3 separate regions of the Homo sapiens genome follow, and regions 1 and 2 are each linked to region 3. Evidence: promoter capture Hi-C in human tissues and cell types (Jung and others, 2019). All regions are on one chromosome and are shown on one strand. Each heading gives the region's core, a stretch centred on a gene start or on the middle of the fragment in contact. The rest is flanking DNA. Distances are from core to core; before and after follow the strand shown.

Region 1 (3,254 bases), core at 568-3,067, 690 kb after region 3:
TTACGAGAGGGTGTGTAGAGGGCTGTAGGGACACAGACAAGCACATAGCCCCGCTTACAACAGGTGGGGACCATATTGATTTTTTGGGGAAAAGATGGCTTTCAGTAGAGGCTGTGCCACTTTCTTTCTTTCTTTTTTCTTTTTTTTTTTTTTTTTTTGAGATGGAGTCTTGCTCTGTCGCCCAGGCTGGAGTAGTACAGTGGGGCGATCTCGGCTCACTGCAAGCTCCACCTCCTGGGTTCACATCATTCTCCTGCCTCAGCCTCCCAAGTAGCGGGGACTACAGGCGTCCGCCACCACGCCCGGCTAATTTTTATATTTTTAGTAGAGACGGGGTTTCACCGTGTTAGCCAGGATGATCTCGATCTCTTGACCTCGTGATCCACCCGCCTCGGCCTCCCAAAGTGCTGGGATTACAGGCATGAGCCACCGTGCCCGGCCTAGGCTTTGCCACTTTCAAGATAGGTAATCTTGCAACAGGGTTGATTGTTTTTTGTTTTAATTTACTCTAAGCCCTACTCCTGATCTGTGATAATAGTGTAGTACAATTTCAAGGGTGGTTGTGAGGATTAAGAGAGATGAACATGGTCGGGCACAGTGGCTCACGCCTGTAATCCCAGCACTTTGGGAGGCCGAGGCGGGTGGATCACGAGGTCAGTTCGAGACCAACCTGACCAATATGGTGAACCCCGTGTCTATGAAAAATACAAAAATTAGCTGGGCATGGTGGCACGCACCTGTAATCCCAGCTACTCAGGAGGCTGAGGCAGGAGAATTGCTTGAACCTGGGAGGTAGAGTTTGCAGTGAGCCAAGATTGTGCCATTGCACTCCAGCCTGGGCAACAGAGCGAGACTCCGCCACAAAAAAAAAAAAAAAAAAAGAGAGAGAGATGAACATTCAAGTCCTAAGCCTTTAGGTCCTCACAATCTATGCTTGCTGAAGTGACCCGAACAAATGCAGATGGAGTGGGGTCGAGTGGGGGAAACGCTTTCTAGGGAGAGGGAACACCACATTCTAAGGCTACACATCCAGAAGGAGCTTGAGCAATCCAGGAAGGGCGCAGGGTGCGGTGGCTGATGGCCGGGGTGGCTGATGGCCTTGAGGACCAGCTAAGAAACTTGGATTATTTACTAACAAAAATAAAAGAGCCACCATTTGTTGAGGGTTTGCTCTGACATTTCCATCAAAACTACCTTAGCAAGGTAGATTTAATAAATCCAGTTGTATACAAAAGGGAAACACGAGAAGCCATAGAAGGGCTGCATACAGGTAGGTGACTTGATCAATTTCGTGTTTTACAAAGATCCCTTAGATCATGTGTTGGAGTGATAGGAGGTACTCTACCGACCTGCCTTGAACTCCATACTTTAAAAAATATATGACGTTTATCATTTCCTCTTTTACTCCACAATTTATACTCACTGTAGAAAATATTAAAAATATAAGAAAGTTTGAAGAAACAAAAAATTATTACTGGTACTTTCCAGAGACATCTCAATTGATACTTTTCTTCCAGTCTTTTTTTTTCTATGTAAAAAATATATAGTTATTAGAATGCCTGACAGAAGGAAGATGGAAAGAGACCACTGTGAAGCGTTCTTGATATTCCCTCTTCCCTTCCTCTCCATGTTATTAGGGCCATACCAAGAGGAGAGGCTGATTTCCCTACACGTGTCAGGGAAAGTCCCAACTCTGCGCAGTGACCCTCGCTTGCCATTTTCGCCGGTCTCTAGGGGGCGCTGCCCCGAGACTGGGTGGGGAGGGAAAGAAGGTGGTGCGAAAACGCGTTTGAACTTGGGTCCTGCCGCTGCCCGTAGCCGGCGTCCCCAACATGGCGGCTCCCCAAGACGTCCACGTCCGGATCTGTAACCAAGAGATTGTCAAATTTGACCTGGAGGTGAAGGCGCTTATTCAGGTACTGATCCCGGGACCCCTGCCGGGCTCCAGCAGCCCTAACCCAAGCTCTGCTGGTCTGTGAGCTTGGCAGTGTCACTCCCGAACTTTCCCCACTTGGTTTCCCAGACCACAGGCTCCGCCCCATGGTCGGCTACCCCCCCGGTCCCCATTTGGTTGTGTCCCGGTGACTGCTGGCCTTGATCCTTTTTCCGGGTGCCGCCGGATCTCCCATCCCCAGAGCACCCCACTGTTCTCCGCCCCTGACTCAGCTACTGCTTCGGGGCTCGGCTTTGCCCCTTCCACCTGCAGCCCTGGTCGTCGCCCCGCCCCTGACTACCTCACAACCTACCTGTCACCCTGCTTGGCCCCGCCCTCTGACGCTGCTTCAGCATCCTCTGGTAGCGTCCGGGAGGCAGCTAGCCCCGCCCCCTGCTGGCCAGCTCTCCTGGCATCCAAGGCCACCTGGCACGGGAGGCACCGGGTGAAACGAATGTAACCTGGACCGTAGTTGTGATTTTATGCTTGAGGAAATCGAGTACGGCGCCAAGGCCTAGGTTAGAAGGCATACCTGGGTCAGTGGCAAAACTGGGACCTGGACTGTGAAAGTCAACCTAGGAATAACACCTTAGAGTGTTACCCCGTTTGAACAGATAGGAAATGAAGTGTTTCGCCTTAAGCCATTTAAGGGTAGAGGTAAAATAAACGAGTGGACTTAGGCAAGAATTGGGAGTGTAGACACGGTTCCATGAGTTCAGCAAAAAGAAACCGAGTTTTAAACCTTGTTTTTGCTTGTTTGTTTTTGTTTTTTTGAGACGGAGTCTCGCTCTGTCGCCCAGGCTGGAGTGCAGTGGCGCGATCTCGACTCGCGGCAAGCTCCGCCTCCCGGGTTCCCGCCATTCTCCTGCCTCAGCCTCCTGAGTAGCTGGGACTACAGGCACCCGCCACCACGCCCGGCTAATTTTTGTGTTTTGCTTAGTAGAGACGGGGTTTCACCGTGTTAGCCAGGATGGTCTCGATCTCCTGACCTCGTGATCCGCCCGCCTCGGCCTCCCAAATTGCTGGGATTACAGGCGTGAGCCACCGCGCCCGGCCTAAACCTTGGTTTTTAAAAATAATCATTTTCAACAAAGTCACTAAACATTAGATGTAGACTCAGAGTTTGTAACAAGGTGTGGCAAAAAGTGCAGGAAAATAGGGCTCCCCAGATAAACCAGATGCAGAATAAACCAAATTAGATGCAGAATAAACAAATACGGTGCAAAGAAGTGTGATTAAATGAATAAGCCAGAGAAAAAGTGAAATTTGATGCAGATATTTAAAACTTCTTGAACTTCACTTCTCTGATGTATACATTACA
Region 2 (3,545 bases), core at 979-3,478, 520 kb after region 3:
ACATGCACAGATATGAGAATGTTCTTTGACCATCAGAAATAACTAAATTGGCCGGGTGCGGCAGCTCACACCTGTAATCCCAGCACTTTGGGAGACCGAGGCAGAAGGATCATGAGGGCAGGAGATCAAGACCATCCTGGCTAACACGGTGAAACCCCATCTCCACTAAAAAAAAAAAAAAAAATACAAAAAAATTAGTCGGGCGTGGTGGCGGGCGCCTGTAGTCCCAGCTATTCAGGAGGCTGAGGCAGGAGAATAGCGTGAACCCGGGAAGCGGAGCTTGCAGTGAGCCGAGATCACACCACTGCACTCCAGCCTGGGTGACACAGCGAGACTCTGTCTAAAAAAAAAAAAGAGGCCAGGCGCAGTGGCTCACGCCTGTAATTCCAGCACTCTGGGAGGCCGAGGTGGGCGGATCACGAGGTCAGGAGATCGAGACCATCCTGGCTAACACGGTGAAACCCCGTCTCTACTAAAAATACAAAAAAAAATTAGCTGGGGATGGTGGTGGGTGCCTGTAGTCCCACCTACTCGGGAGGCTGAGGCAGGAGAATGGCATGAACCTGGGAGGCGGAGCTTGCAGTGAGCCAAGAGTGCACAACTGCACTCCAGCCTGGGCGACAGAGCGAGACTCCGTCTCAAAAAAAAAAAAAAAAAAAAACCAAAAAAAAAAAAAAAACACTAAATCAACCACTTTCCAATTTATTCTTGGCAAGGGTGGCTAGTTCTAGAATAGGCTTTTAAAGGTCTCATCTTATGCAGCAGATGATGTCTGAATCTTGTGAAGTTGTGTGTAATTTAGGATTCTCTGTATGCCGACTTATTTCTTGAAATGGGAGAGGCTGTCAGTCGGCGCCACATGTGGGCTGGTGGCTCTGTGGCAGTGGTGGCGGCTGGACTCCGGCACCATGAGCGGCTTCAGCACTGAGGAGCGCGCCACGCCCTTCTCCCTGAAGTACCGAGTCTTCCTCAAAAATGAGAAAGGACAATATATGTCTCCATTTCAAGATATTCCAATTTATGCAGATAAGGATGTGTTCCACGTGGTAGTTGAAGTACCACTGTGGTCTAATGCAAAAATGGAGGTTGCTACAAAGGACCCTTTAAACCCCATTAAACAAGATGTGAAAAAAAGAAAACTTCGCTATGTTGCGAATTTGTTCCCGTATAAAGGATATGTCTGGAACTATGGTGCCATCCCTCAGACTTGGGAAGACCCAGGGCACAATGATAAACATACTGGCTGTTGTGGTGACAATGACCCAATTGATGTGTGTGAAATTGGAAGCAAGGTATGTGCAAGAGGTGAAATAATTGGTGTGAAAGTTCTAGGCATATTGGCTATGATTGACGAAGGGGAAACCGACTGGAAAGTCATTGCCATTAATATGGATGATCCTGATGCAGGCAATTATACTGATATCAGTGATGTCAAACGGCTGAAACCCGGCTACTTAGAGGCTACTGTGGACTGGTTTAGAAGGTATAAGGTTCCTGATGGAAAACCAGAAAATGAGTTTGTTTTAATGCAGAATTTGAAGATAAGGACTTTGCAATTGATATTATTAAAAGCACTCATGACCATTGGAAAGCATTAGTGACTAAGAAAATGAATGGAAAAGGAATCAGCTGCATGAACAAAACTGTGTCTGAGAGCCTGTTCAAGTGTGATCCTGATGCTGCCAGAGCCATTGTGGATGCTTTACCACCACCCTGTGAATCTGCCTGCACAGTACCAACAGACGTGGATACGTGGTTCCATCACCAGAAGAACTAATGGGATTTCTCTGGAATACAAGCTGATATTGCTGCATCGTGTTCATCTGGATGTATTAGATGTAAAATAGTAGCTTTTCAAAGCTTTAAATGTGTAGAACTCATCTAAGTAAATTCTGCTGTGACCAATCCCATGTACTCAGAACATTACCCATCTAAAGCATTTTTCATATCTCAACTAAGATAACTTTCAGCACGTGCTTAAATATCAAGGCAGTTGTCATTTGGAAGTCACTTGTGAATAGATGTGCAAGGGGAGCACATATTGGATGTATATGTTACCATATGTTAGGAAATAAAATTATTTTGCTTAAAAAAAAAGAAATAGGAGAGGCAACATGGCTTAGTGGGAAGAACAGGAGCTACAAAGAGCCGTGTTCAGATCCAAGCTCTGTCACTGAAAACAGCTATGCTTTGGACAAGTTACAAATTACAAGTTACAAGCCTTTTAGGACTGGGTGCAGTGGCTCACACCTGTAATCCCAGCACTTTGGGAGGCCGAGGCAGGTGAATCACCTGATGTCAAGAGTTTGAGACCAACCTGGCCAACATGGTGAAACCCTGTCTCTACTAAAAATACAAAACTAGCCAGTTGTGGTGGCGGGCACCTGTAATCCCAGTTACTCAGGAGGCTGAGACAGGAGAATCGCTTGAACCCAGGAGGTGAAGCCTGCAGTGAGCCAAGATCGCGCCACTGCACTCCAACCTGGGTGAGACAGAGCAAGACTCTGTCTCAAAAATAAATAAATAAATAAATAAACCAAATCTAAGCCTTTTAAAATTATGTACAATAGATTTAAAAATACCTATATTCAGTGTCGTGAGCATTAAATGAGACAGATAATTCAAAGCACCTAGTCCAATGTCTGGCAGGTGGCAATCACTCCAGCAACGGTGGCAGCAGTAGTACTGGTGGCCATACACAGTGCACATTCCATATACACTACTGGGCTAAGGAGTAATAAATCCTGCTAGGGTTTTCAGCTGCCCCAGTAACTTCCAAGCTTCCAGAGTAGCTTGGAAAGGGGCTTTATGACACCATATCTTCGTGACTCTGCATGCCTGTTTTTACCTACAGGACTGAGTTTAGGAAAGAAGGGCTCCTCAGCTCGTTGCACAATAGTGTTTCAGTCAACTCTTGTTTCCTTGATGCTGCTGGGGGGCCTCTGAGGTTTTTCCTCTAGTGGTGCTTCTCAAACTTTTTGGTCTCAAGACCTGTTTACATATTTAAAAACTATGGAGGACCCAAGGGACTTACATTTATATAGGTTATAGCTATTGATATTTGTCATGTTAGAAATTAAAACTTCAAATTTTAACATATTAATTTTATTATATTATTATTATTATTATTTGAGACAAGATCTCAGTCTTCACCCAGGCTGTAGTGCAATGGTGCAATTATAGCTCACTGTAACCTTGAACTTGTGGGTTCAAGCAATCCTCCCTCTTCAGCCTCCTAAGTAGCTAGGACTACAGGAGATAACACCACATCAAAATTGTTTCTTGTAGAGATGGAGGTCTCACTATGTTGCCGAGGCTGCTCTGGAACTCCTGGCCTCAAGTGATCCTCCTGCTTTAGCCTCCCAAAGCACTGGGATTATAGGCGCGAGTCACTGCATCTGGCCAACATATTTATTTTAAATTCATACAAAAAGAGCAACAAGAAACCCATAACATGTTAACATAACATTTATATGAGAAATAGCTGTTTTTTCCAAAACTAACAAAACATGTGGTTGGAAGAGTAACATTGTGTTACATTTTGG
Region 3 (3,531 bases), core at 676-3,175:
TATGGGCGTGATAGGAGAGGCCAGAAGAGGGCGCGTGGACGATGATGGCCGGGCCTCGGTGGCAGTATCTATTCTCGTTTTTGCCAGCTCACAGACCTGGTGGGAGGTGGCATGGAGAATTCCAGACTTCCTCCAGTTGCCATGTTGGTGAAAACTGTCTTCATGCCAAAGAGGCAAACTCACTTACACGCTAACAGGCTCAAACAAGAAACTAAGATTTGGCAGCATTTGAAAACAGTTAACAAAAAATAAAAAAAGGAAGGAAAAAAAAAAGACAATTTAGCTCAGCTCTGGAATCAAGGGAAACTTCACTCTATATAAAGATGCCACAGGTCCAGGAAATAGCTTCCCACCGCCTGGCTAAGGGCTGAATAACTGGCTGCCCAGCCAATAACAATACAGACTCACACAGCACACCCTTTCTTGTGGAGAGCGCGGAGTGGGTTCCCGGCTATCTCCTTTCAGAATTTCACAGGCTATTCACGGAAGGCATGCAGATCTACTTTGTAAGAATTAGTTCTTAAAAAAAAAAGATCTGAAGACGACTTCCAGGGAGGCCAAGGAGCTTAATTTAGCCAGCCAACGCCCTTTTCTATTCATTGTTCTATACTTCTTTGTTAGGATTTTTTCCCTCCCTCTTACTCTTTTTCCCTTCCTGGTTAACTTCTCTGCAGCCAGGCTCCGCCACTGCCCACTTCTCACCGCCAGAGACACTATAGCCCCCTTCCCTGCTGTAATGAGGCCCTCCCCAAGGCCTCATGTGGGCCCATCACCCCACATCCCCTTTATCTCCACCTAGAACCTGCGAGGTGGTCCCAGGGCCTCCTGAATCTGCAGACGTGTCCCCTAGGTTGCTGCGGAAGCCACTTTCCACCTGCAGGTCACCGTCAGCCCCAGGCACCCCTGCTGGAGGGAGGGAAGCCCGAATGCAGCTCTATGTTCCAGGACCTGCAACCTCTGAGCCTCAGCCTTCCTATCTGCAAAACGACGCTACTGTCCCATTTTCTCAAGTCCTTGCCAGCTCCAAACAAGATTCCCATGTTCCAGAGGGAGATGCCAGGAGAAAACTTTCGTACATTTTAAAACAGAAGTTACTGGAGAGAGGGGGCAGGGGATGTTTTTAACCCTTTAAAGGCGTAGCCACTCAAATGATCCATTCCCAGAGATCTCCTCCATCGCCCAGGCCGGCTCTTGCCAAAGAACGGAGTCAAATTCGGCGAACCCTAGAGGGGCTACCTGTGGCTGGGGACTGCGGGTCTGCGCGCCTCTGGACAAGGAGGGGCAAGGCGGGCGGCCTGAGAACAGGCACTTCTGTCTCTCCCGCTTTCTGTCTCAGACCCCTCACCGGCTGGAGCCAGACTTTTCCACAGATGAGCAGGACGGGAGTTGGGGGGACACGGAGAAGACAGAAAGGGGTAGAGGAGCCGCAGGGAGGCGAGTAGGGGGGCGAGGCGGGAGGAAGGGATGGAGGGGGAGAACGAGGCAAAAGCGGGGAGGGGAGGGGAGGGAGGGAGGAGGAGTCGGGAGGGACCCGGGCAGCGCCGCCGCAGAGCCGAGGGGAGAGCAGGGGAGGAGGGGACGGGAAGCGCTGGAGGCAGAAGTTTTCCAAGCCGGGGGCCCTCGGTCGCCCCCGACGGGGCGCGGGCTCAAGGGGGCGTGGGGGCCGCGCCGCACTCACATAATGCTTGTTGGGCACCCGCCGCTTCTGCACGTCTAGCACCTTCACCTCCACGATGCTGCGCCGCGGCGGCATGGCCGCTCCTCCGCCCGCAGCGGGCCGAGCGCGGGTGCGGGTGGCGCGGGGTGCAGGGAGCGCTGGGGGCGCGCCGCCGCGGGCAGGGAACCTGGAGCTGAGCGCAATCGCAGCCGGGGCCGAGCACGAGCCGCCGCCGCCACCGCCGCCGCCCTTCGCTCGGCGCGCACTCCAGCCGGGCCCAGCCGCCGCCGCCCGCCCCCGGCCCGCCCCCCGCACCGCCCCCCGCACCGCCCCCCGCACCGCCCCCCGCGCCGCCGGCCCGCCCCCCTTAAAGGGCCCGGCCCCGACCCCCGCCCACCGCGCGCGAACCCCGCCGGCCACGTCCGGCCCCCGCCCGGCCTTTGTCCCGGTGCTGAGCCGCCGCGCCGGGGGAGGGGACTGGACTGACCCCGTCGCCCGTTCACTGATTGACGTATCGATTCATTCCAGCACTCTCGCTCCGGCAGCCGCCATCCACCGCCAGTTTGGAGAGCCGGACACCCGGGTTCGAATCCCGGCTTTGCCGCTTTTCCACTCTGTGCCCTCGGCAAGTTGCTTAACCTCTCTGGGTTGGGTCTCTTCGTCTATAATATGAGCCTAGTAGTACAAGCACCATGTTTGTCTTTTTGTGTCTGGCTTATTTCACTCGGCATAATGTCCTCAAGGCTCATCCATGTTGTAGCACGTGTCAGTAGTACCGCCTGCCTGCCGGTGCTGCGCCCGGGATTAAGTGCATGTGAAGCCATTCCGCAGTGCAGTCCATGGTATGAGTGCTGGCGTTCCTAAAGCCACCCCAAGCCCTGGTGATTCAGGAGGAGCAAGAGACCCGTGACCAGGTTCCCCCAGCCTCAGTCTGGGACATGGGGAGTGAGGGAGAGAAAAACTGCAACAAATGCGCATACGTGCAATGTAATTGCCATGGAAGCAACAAAAGGGGATAAAAGGGTGGTGACTATGTGTGAGGGGCAGCTGGGTGCTTGTTAGCAAGGCCATCGATTTCCAGTTGCGGAGCACTTAACTGCTCGCTGGGCCCCGTGGCCCCTGCTTTTCACAAATGCTGTCTTTGCATCCTCAGGCAGACTCTAGGAGGAAAAGGTGTTTTTACAGAGGACGGCCTCCAGACATTTGGACATTTCCAATGAGGCCTGAGGACCCTCTGACTTGGGAACTGTACTTCAGAAGAATGTGCCTTACAGGAATTACATCAGTGAAGGTCCAGAGTCAGGGAGCCGGTGGATGGAGCCCGTCACTGCCTGGCTCTAGGTGGATCTCACACGTTGAAGCTGCCGTGGCTGGGGCAGCTCCTCGTTTCTTCATCTAGTGCCTCCTAGCACTGGCTGGGCACTGAGTCACTTTCAGGAGATGTTGGCTGAATGAATGGATAAATGAATATATAATGCATGGATGGGAGGTTTAGGCTCCTGGCCAGTGTTTTCACAGCCAGTAAGTGGGGGCTCTTTTCAACAAACCGTACGACTCTTCTCCATGCCACGACAGAGCTACTTCCCACCCCGGTCCAGGATCAGCCTTTGGAAAAGGGTGGGCTTATCCAGGGTAGGACGGCTCTCAGCCTCGGCCAGGCCACGTGGATGATTTGGGCTGATTCACTTTGGATCCGCCCCTCCATTTGCTCCTCTGACTTCCTTGCCAGACTTTACCATCCTGCTCCAGCCCCAGAGGCTGGCCTGTGTGGATTTCACTGACAGCTCTCTGTCCTGGTCTTCCTGTTTGGCTTGGCCAGTGGAAGGGCCTGGCAGGAGATTGAGGGCAAGAGGAGAGAGGGAGGTCTGGGTATT

What was found. Contacts are between HindIII fragments. The study calls those that stand out against the background at their distance.
Region 1: the fragment with the promoter of BNIP1 here is called in contact with the fragment with the promoter of SH3PXD2B in region 3 in 1 of the 25 tissues and cell types used here (mesenchymal stem cells).
Region 2: a fragment that was not itself captured here is called in contact with the fragment with the promoter of SH3PXD2B in region 3 in 1 of the 25 tissues and cell types used here (IMR-90 fibroblasts).

Annotation. Positions count from the first base shown.
Region 1 is chr5:173,142,714-173,145,967 of GRCh38, forward strand. It overlaps BNIP1 (BCL2 interacting protein 1), which reads left to right and starts at 1,818. Exons shown (of 6, transcript NM_001205.3): 1 at 1,818-1,916. The coding sequence starts at 1,833. RefSeq lists enhancers at 2,011-2,539, 2,481-2,550. The HindIII fragment of the contact is 15,478 bases long and covers 1-3,254 here.
Region 2 is chr5:172,974,603-172,978,147 of GRCh38, forward strand. It overlaps the pseudogene LOC285591. Among named protein-coding and RNA genes, the nearest start is that of ATP6V0E1, 7.4 kb to the right of the region's middle. The HindIII fragment of the contact is 5,706 bases long and covers 1-3,545 here.
Region 3 is chr5:172,452,600-172,456,130 of GRCh38, forward strand. It overlaps SH3PXD2B (SH3 and PX domains 2B), which reads right to left and starts at 1,926. Exons shown (of 13, transcript NM_001017995.3): 1 at 1,679-1,926. The coding sequence starts at 1,753. RefSeq lists an enhancer at 892-1,413. The HindIII fragment of the contact is 19,152 bases long and covers 1-3,531 here.